3 separate regions of the Homo sapiens genome follow, and regions 2 and 3 are each linked to region 1. The links are contacts of gene promoters, found by promoter capture Hi-C in blood cells and fetal thymus (Javierre and others, 2016). All regions are on one chromosome and are shown on one strand. The core of a region is centred on a gene start or on the middle of the fragment in contact, and the rest is flanking DNA. Distances in the headings are between cores, read along the strand shown.

Region 1 (2,713 bases), core at 105-2,604:
CCCAGAGTCCTGCGCTGCTTTGCAAGTCGGATTCCCGCAGACACGATCTGCAGCTCGATAATGACACAGTCTTTGGAAGGAGCGACTGTTCTCGCCTCGCTCGCTCCGAGTTCTGGGGACGCCTGGCTGCCCGCGCCGTGCCCCGACGGGCCGGCGTCCGACCCCGGCCGGAGCTGCCAGGCCAGCGGCGCCCTCGCCCCCGGCCTCCTCCCGATCCGTCGGCCCCGCTGCGGTCTGCAAACATTTCCTGCCCCCACCCCCACCAGGAGCTACCCAGTTGGAGAGAGTTGGTCGCGCAGCCGGCTCAGTGCTCGCAGTTGCCCCAACTCAGCTCCCCCGGCCGCCCGGCGCTGGGGAGCGGCCCCCTCTGGCTGCGGAGCAGCCCATCGGGGAAACCCAAGCGCCAGCACCAGTGGGGAGTCCATCGGTAAGCCCAGGACTCGGGCGAGGAGGGGGACAACTGGCGGGATGCCCGAGGCCCTGCTCCCTTCCCCATCGTTACCTGCTCGCTTGCGGGGGTGTCCCGGGGCTGCCGGCCTCTCCCGGCGCTGTCTCCCCACGCAGTTGCCCATGCTGGCTCCTCAGCCAGTCCCCATGCACCGGAGGCGGCGGGGTGGTCGGCTGCTCAGCGGACGGCGGCGTCCCGGGTCAATGGCTCCGGCCGCCCGGCATCGGGCGCTCCCCGATCTCCCCCCGGGGGCGCGCTCAGCCCCAGCGATGGCTCCGCCAAAACTTTGCGGGCCAGGGGAGAGAGGGAAGTGGCAGACTCCCCAGCACGGTCCCAGGTGGCCGGGCCAGGGGGGCCCGCGACGGTGCCCGGCCGGAGACCAGCTCCGCTGGAGGGGCGGAGAGAGGGGGCGGGCACCGCCGCAGCTACTCCCGGCTCGCTCGGGGCACCAGGCAGGGGCCGGCCCCCTGGAGCCTGTCACTCACCTGCCTAACCCCGCCCCAGGCCGGCCCCTCTCCCTTCCGCCGGCTCGCGGTGCCCGCGCCGCCGCCACCACCCGCCCCAGGTGCGCATGTGACCGACAGCACCGCCCCCTAGGGCTGGGCCTGATTTTCTCATTGGCTTCCCCCGTGGTGCGTACCGCCCCTCTCCCCACCCAGCCAGGTGCCCGCCCCGCAGCCCGTCTCCCGGGGAGCCGGGCTGGGAATTATTCGCCCTCAATCGCCTCCGGCTGCGTGCCCAGCAGCCGCCTTCCCTCTCGGTGCCACCGCCCCATTTCAGGCCCCGCCCCTCCCTGGAACTGCCTAGGCAGAAGCCGGCAGGCACGTGACCCCGGCGCCCCGCCCCCTTGCGCTTCCCCGGAGATTGGCTCGGGAGGCGCATGCGCGGAGAGCCCGTCTCGAGCCACCGCCCATATCCCCTCCCACGGTCTCTAGTTCGCGTTATGGCCGCTGCCGCGGCTGTGGAGGCGGCGGCGCCTATGGGTGCCCTATGGGGCCTCGTGCACGACTTCGTCGTGGGTCAGCAAGAGGGCCCCGCTGACCAGGTGGCTGCAGGTACGGCAGACGGCGCCGCGCGCCTTCCGCATGGGGGCCAACAGGAGGGAGCGGCCTCAGTACAGGCGCCGGGCGGGAAGGGAGGAGCGGGGTGACTTTGAGAGATTGGTCTCAAGGCTGGTTAGTGAGCACCGCGAGGTTCAGAGCCGTAACAAGTTAGAGAGTTGCCTGTGTCTTCCTTAAAACCATTTACACTTCTCATCTCCCTGTAGCCAATTATAGGGAATCATTACATTTTACAGATGAGGAAACTGAGGCTCAGCGAGGGCAAGAGGACTTGCGCAGGGCTGCAGACCAGGCAGGAGGGGGAGGTGGGACTCGGACCCAGGCGTTCAGGTCCGAACCGGGTGCTCACGCCACGAAGCCATGCTGTTTGTGGGAGGTTGACGTGTGGAGGTGCATCCTCGCAGCGTCCGCTCCCGTCGCGTGGCATCCTGGGAGTGGCAGATGGCCCCGCGCTCTGACTGGCTGGAATTAAGAGGAGTTGAGGAGACGGGCCAGGAGGAGCTGGAGATGTTCTGGGTGTCCTCCTTAAGACTTTCTCTCCGTTTCTTGCTAAAGTTCTTGATTAGTTTGCTCCATGACGTTTTATGTGGCGTTTGTTTTTGTCTTCTTCCCAGACCCCCACTTTCCTGCTTTTGACCAGTTCAGAGATCTCTTAGTTCAGACAGCTTATCTAAAATTAGAATAAAACGATTTCCAGGCTTCCGTGGAGTTCTGAGACTTTGCTCTTCTAGGAAAAAAAAAAAACTACTAAAAAGTTATTGAATGTTAGGAGGCCTTCAGATCTTGGGTTTAAGTAACAATATAAAATTATCTAATGAGTAGTTTTTTTAAAAAAACTTTGGAAATTTCGTATGCTTGGAGAGAAGTAAGGACACATTTCTCTTGGATATTGAGCGTATTAACCTTTAGAATATGTAAGAAAAGAATAGTGAATCTGCTAGAAATATAATACTTTGTTCGTTAGCAGTATTCCACTTTAATTCAATCATGCCACTATTGTTGAATACATATTATTCCCCAAACATGATGCAAAGCAATAGGAATATAAATACAAATTAGGTTAGATCTGTGCCCACCAGGAACTTATAGTATGCTGGGAGAGGCAACCATTCTGTAAGAGGTGTGTGCAGCGTAGTTTGGAAGCATCAAGGAGCAAATACCTGGTGCTGCCACCAAACTTAACATCTTACAATTTTATGAAATG
Region 2 (2,713 bases), core at 157-2,656, 920 kb after region 1:
TCCTTCCCCCAGTAGGACAGGGAACACATCTTGTTCAAAGCTGTATCCTCAGTTATAAACACAGTTGTTTCACATGCTAAGCACTTAGTAAATAATTGTTCAGTGAATTAATGTCTGCACTATTAGTTGATTTAAATGCATCCAATGTTGTCTTTAATTTATACTGCTACTTAGAATTATTAGTTTTAAAATTACCATGGTAATCAGTTTCCATAGAATCATTGGAACTTTAAACTTGTCGAGATCTTAGAAATCTTTGACAGGCCTCCCACTTGTACCTTGGAACTACTCAAAGTCATTACTGACCACACTTCAGATTTAGCCATGTATAATATTCACTGATATGTAGTTCCATAATTACTTATTCAAAGAAATATGCATATAGTGCATGTCTTTCAGGCTGCTAACAAGATAGAATGTTGGCTTGAATGGACTTGTGGAGGTTCTATAGCAGTCTTCTTCCTTGTCCTCTGTAGTACTTTGACCAGTGGCTGTGTGAAAGTCTCGCAAGGAGATGAAATTTTATTTATGCTTGCTGGCAACATTAGGTTTTTTTTTTTTTTTAATTGATTAACATGAGGTTCTGGATAAACTTGATTTTGTTTCCTCCTTCCTTGTCCATGTTAGCATGGTGAATCATGCTGGTTGCAGGTTTGCCACTATTTGATAGTGTAAATGTAAATAATAGACACACTCTTATGAGCTATTGGGCTTAGTTCAAACACTGTCTTCTATAAAACAAGTTTGGAAAAGGTGTATCTGCCTGAGACTACAATCAGAGGATATAATTTTAAAATTCACAAAGTTTCATTTTTAAGATGTGGACATTCATCATCAGATTAAGCTTCCAGTATTTATTTTATAGCTTCCTGAACAGAGATGATGCACTTTTGTTTAGAACACACAACAAATATTCCCTTAATTTGAATTAGTGTGTTTTTTTTTTTTAATTCTTGTTTGCTTTTCTTGTTTCAGTATCAAGATAAAGAGGAAGTTGTCTTATGGATGAATACTGTTGGGCCCTACCATAATCGTCAAGAAACATATAAGTACTTTTCACTTCCATTCTGTGTGGGGTCAAAAAAAAGTATCAGTCATTACCATGAAACTCTGGGAGAAGCACTTCAAGGGGTTGAATTGGAATTTAGTGGTCTGGATATTAAATTTAAAGGTAAGTAAACCTTAATAGTCCTTACAATGCAATTTGGATTGTAGACAAGGGTTTCATATTTTGGCACTATTGACACTGGTGTTGGATAATTCTTTGTTGTATGGAGCTGTTATGTACATGTTAGGATGTCTAGCAGAGTCCCTGGCCTGTACCCCCCAGATGCCAGTAGCACCTTCCAGTTGTGAAAACCAAAAAAGTCACCAGACATTGCTAATTGCTGTCAGTTGAGAACCACTACTTTAGACTCTAAAATGTGTTTTAGTCTGTAAATGAGGTGTATTGCATTTAGGAAAGTATATTAGTAATTAACAAAGATTTCCTTTGAATATTTATAAGATAATAAAATAGATAATTGTTAATAAAATTGTATTTCCTTAACATATTTCCTTCTGAAAAGTGTTGTCTAGTAAACCCCCTATTGATTAGACACATGTGGCCCGGGAAGACCTTCATGGATATTTAACAAAGTAATTTCTGGAGGTCTGAGGCTGTAATGGGATGCGTGGATACTTAAAATTCTTGTGTGACGCCTCAAATTCAAACTTGTACCATAGGCTTAACATGTATTATTTATCAGTGTTGTATTAATTTATCCTGTTAATACCTATAGGATATTTAAATTTTAAGTCAAAGACTTGTTAAATTTGGGGAAAATACTTCATCGTATCTAGTTATTATGCAGGTATCCATTTATCAGGTCCTTTGAGTGTGTTTATACTTTTCATTTTTCTCTGTGAAGTTTGTCAGAGAGTGTATTTCCTGCACAGGCATTTTTAGCATGGTGAACAGAAGCTTGAGTAATTGAATTTTTGCAGGATCTTTGATTAGGTGTCTTGGTTTTTGAATACATCATGGATCCTGTAAACAGGAGCTTTGGATTTTAATCCTCCTTTTTTTTTTTTTTGGTACTGTATTCATTTTAGTAAAATTGTTTACTGCAGTTTTGACTTCATTGTCTCCATGTGTAAGATGAATAGTAACTGACTTCTGGTATTTTTAGTACTAAAGATGTTATTATTTAGTACTTTGAGGAGAAGAATGTCAGTGAGATTTTAAAGATAATGTTACTTTAATTTCGATTTGTTAAATTTTATTCTTGTTTTTAAAATTGCTCAGTTATTGTTGAAAATAGGTATACCGTATCTATTTACATTCTCCCCCCTCCCCATCCCCCCGTTTATAGTCTTTGGGGCTTAATTATAAAATTAAGTTGTAAATTTAAACCACAGTGGCATGGCCTGTAATTTTATGAATCACTGTAAACATACCTTTGAGGCTTGTGTTTTAATTTAATTAGGTAATTTAAGTATTTAGTCACAAATAACAAGAAAACTTAAACTAGAAAATGTGATCTTTGAGATTTGGTACTATATGTAATCGTCTGCTTTCTCTTTTTCCGTATTTGGTGTGCATTTCTAGTTTATTAAAGAGGAACCAACAAGAGAGAATAGGCAGAACTCCTGAGTCCTACTTTGCTACTGTGTACAGATTTCATTAGTTTTTGAGATCCTCACCCATATTTACTAAAGAAGAGTACTTAAT
Region 3 (2,713 bases), core at 69-2,568, 640 kb before region 1:
TGACCCATGTTATTTGGAAACCTCACGATACTAGATACTAGAATCTGTTTTCCAACAGTGCTTCTCTGCTTCTGTTTTTATCCCTAGTCCCAATCCAGCTATATCTGGCATTAAAAAAAAAGATACAAGAAGGACAACAAATATTAATAAAACTGAAGGGTGAATTTGAAGAATGAAAAACTATACAGAAGGCTAGCATGAGACAGTGAAAAATGGACACCACAGACTCGAAGCAATTGGTCCATGTTTTATTAAGAGAAAAGAAAATTCTCTCCAAATGCAGGCTTACTGCTGCTAAGTAACACCCTATAACTTTTCCTCTATCTAATGCTTTGACAACTGGAATTTCTCTGTAATTCAATAAGCTCTTAGGAGTTCCCCAAGCTTCATCCATCCTGCTGGGCTCATTACTGGATAATTCTAAATGTTTTCTGCACTAGCGAAGAGCACATTTCCTCGTGGGTAGCACAACAGAAGGAGGGTACTCTTTCAAGGCATGAATAGCCTAGCTCCATTTCTTCTCACTTCTCCTATAGGTGAGAAGTCTACAACAAATATAATTCAACAACTAAAAGAAATGTCTAAATTATAAGCTTAGGTTACTGGGGTTGTCAAAGATCATCCTACAGGTCACGAGTTTTATACATAGTGTGACGGCTAATCATATATTTATATAAGCTAATGAAAAATCTATACTTTTGCTTCTGGCACTAGTTCATTTACTTATGTCTAATGAGTTGCATTAGGGCCAAATAAAAAATATACCAGTCTTTTCATTCATTCTGGTGAGATATTTGTGAATAGTTAGCTTATGGAGCTAATGAGGACAAGGTCACAGACTCAAACTCCATGCTGGCCAATTAGCTTTGCTGTGTGTTTCTAGGTTCCATGGTCACAGTCAACAACCTTAACCTTGGCTAAGAAACACACTGATCATTGAAGCATTAGGGGAATGAATATAGATGTATCAACAAAATCCATACCTTTCAGAAAAAAAATAAAAATTAAAAATAGTAATAACAACACCACCCCAATCTTTAATATTATACTAAACCTGGCTAATATGTGCCTCATTCGAATAATCTTTAATCTTCTCAACCATGCAGGGTTAGTCTAATCTGTCTTCCAGATGATGAGAAACTGAATTCAGAATGATCATATGAACCAAAGTTACATCTAGTGAGCCTGGATTCAGACCTTGGTCTGTCTTGACTCCAAAGCATAGGTTATTGCCACAATGCTACATGGCCTCTCCAGAGTGCACCTCAGTGACCTAGGACAATCAACAAAATGTTCCTATTCAGAACTATTCAGCACACTCATTACTGAGCATCCACTATACATACTCACACACTATAGATGAGAATTAGCATACCTTCCAAAAATTCCTTTTAAGTAAAAAACAGTCAAGGAACAAAAGTGTTTAATTGATTTTTTTTTTTTAATAAAGATGAAGTCTCACTTTGTTGCCCAGGCTGGTCTTGAACTCTTGGCCTCAAATGAGCCTACCTCAGAGGATCTCAAAATGCTGAAAGTACAAGAGTGAGCTACCAGGCCCAGCCAAAAGTGTTTAAGATTAAAACATAAAGGAAAAATTAACACATTATAGCATACAAAGTAGATTTTAATGGAAGTGACTTTCTATTGTCATAGCTTTGTATACAAGTCTGGTGTGAAAAAATAGTTATCTTGCTGATTCATAACTAAAGGTAAGAAAGAAGCTGGCAAAACATAGCACAGGCATACCACATCAAAAAAGAGAGTAAAGGAAACATTTCCTAAGCATCTGAATCTGCAGATATCTGGTAGTCAACATGGCACTTGAAGGAAGTAAAAAATATATACTTCAATTCTAAACTCCAAGACTTTGCCTTGACCAACAAACCATTTTTCTCTATAAGGCTTTCCTCCTTGGTTTTTCTCAACTCTCACTCCCTGCAGATACATACATACCAATGCCATCATTAGCATCAGTCACTAAGAAATGCCATCTTGAAAAAATGAAGGTCACCAAGTCTCCCAGACCCTATCCAATAAGCTTAAATTTTAAAGTCTAATAGTCTGGCTTAAAAAAAATAAAAATAAAAATAAGGCAGGAAGACAAAACTGTTCCATAAACGTCTATCCTAGTCAATATCTGAGTCATAAAGATAGATAATTGCTCTGCTACAAGCTACAATGTACAGAATTGCATTCTTACTACAGGTTGTAAATGAAGCACCAGTTCAATTTCAACAAACTAGGTACAAAGCAACATTTGGAATCTCTAGAAAAACAGAAACACAGCAAAGCCCAATAACCTTGCACAACAGCATTTTAGGAACCTCTAAAGTTGAAAAAAAATCTAATATAATTTTTATATAAAATGCAATTGCTAAAAAACAAACTGCAATCTGACAACTTCTATTTACAGTATTTTTTAAAGTTTGTGAATTAAGGATGACTATCCTCATTTTACAGATAAATGGAATTTCAGGAAAATACCTAAAATTATCATCATCACTATTATCATAATCATCAATAACAACAGCAACAAAATAATGAGAACTTTATTTGTACCCAGCACTAGTAAGCCATTTATGGTCACATCTCATTTCATCTTTGTAGACACCTTGTGACATAATGCCATTTACCTCCATTTGAGAGATTAGGAAACAGGCTCAGAGAAGTCAACTAATTTGCCCAAAATCAAAAACTACAGGTTGAGAATCCC

Evidence for each region. Contacts are between HindIII fragments. The CHiCAGO score rates a contact against its expected background, and 5 or more counts as called.
Region 2: a fragment that was not itself captured here is called in contact with the fragment with the promoter of MMS19 in region 1 in 1 of 17 cell types (neutrophils); the score reaches 6.5 in neutrophils.
Region 3: a contact is called between a fragment that was not itself captured here and the fragment with the promoter of MMS19 in region 1, in 1 of 17 cell types (naive CD4 T cells). The highest score is 5.1, in naive CD4 T cells.

The regions. Positions count from the first base shown.
Region 1 is chr10:97,497,063-97,499,775 of GRCh38, reverse strand. MMS19 (MMS19 cytosolic iron-sulfur assembly component) reads left to right here and starts at 1,354. Exons shown (of 31, transcript NM_022362.5): 1 at 1,354-1,503. The coding sequence starts at 1,392. It overlaps UBTD1 (ubiquitin domain containing 1), which reads right to left and starts at 852. Exons shown (of 3, transcript NM_024954.5): 1 at 503-852. The coding sequence starts at 572. RefSeq lists silencers at 233-432, 443-1,202 and enhancers at 1,443-1,612, 1,973-2,022, 1,699-2,229. The HindIII fragment of the contact is 10,400 bases long and covers 1-2,713 here.
Region 2 is chr10:96,575,092-96,577,804 of GRCh38, reverse strand. TM9SF3 (transmembrane 9 superfamily member 3) reads left to right here. Exons shown (of 15, transcript NM_020123.4): 2 at 976-1,171. Among named protein-coding and RNA genes, the nearest start is that of TM9SF3, 11 kb to the left of the region's middle. The HindIII fragment of the contact is 1,119 bases long and covers 847-1,965 here.
Region 3 is chr10:98,137,259-98,139,971 of GRCh38, reverse strand. The region is part of intron 1 of R3HCC1L (R3H domain and coiled-coil containing 1 like); the gene reads right to left. Among named protein-coding and RNA genes, the nearest start is that of R3HCC1L, 4.0 kb to the right of the region's middle. The HindIII fragment of the contact is 1,445 bases long and covers 596-2,040 here.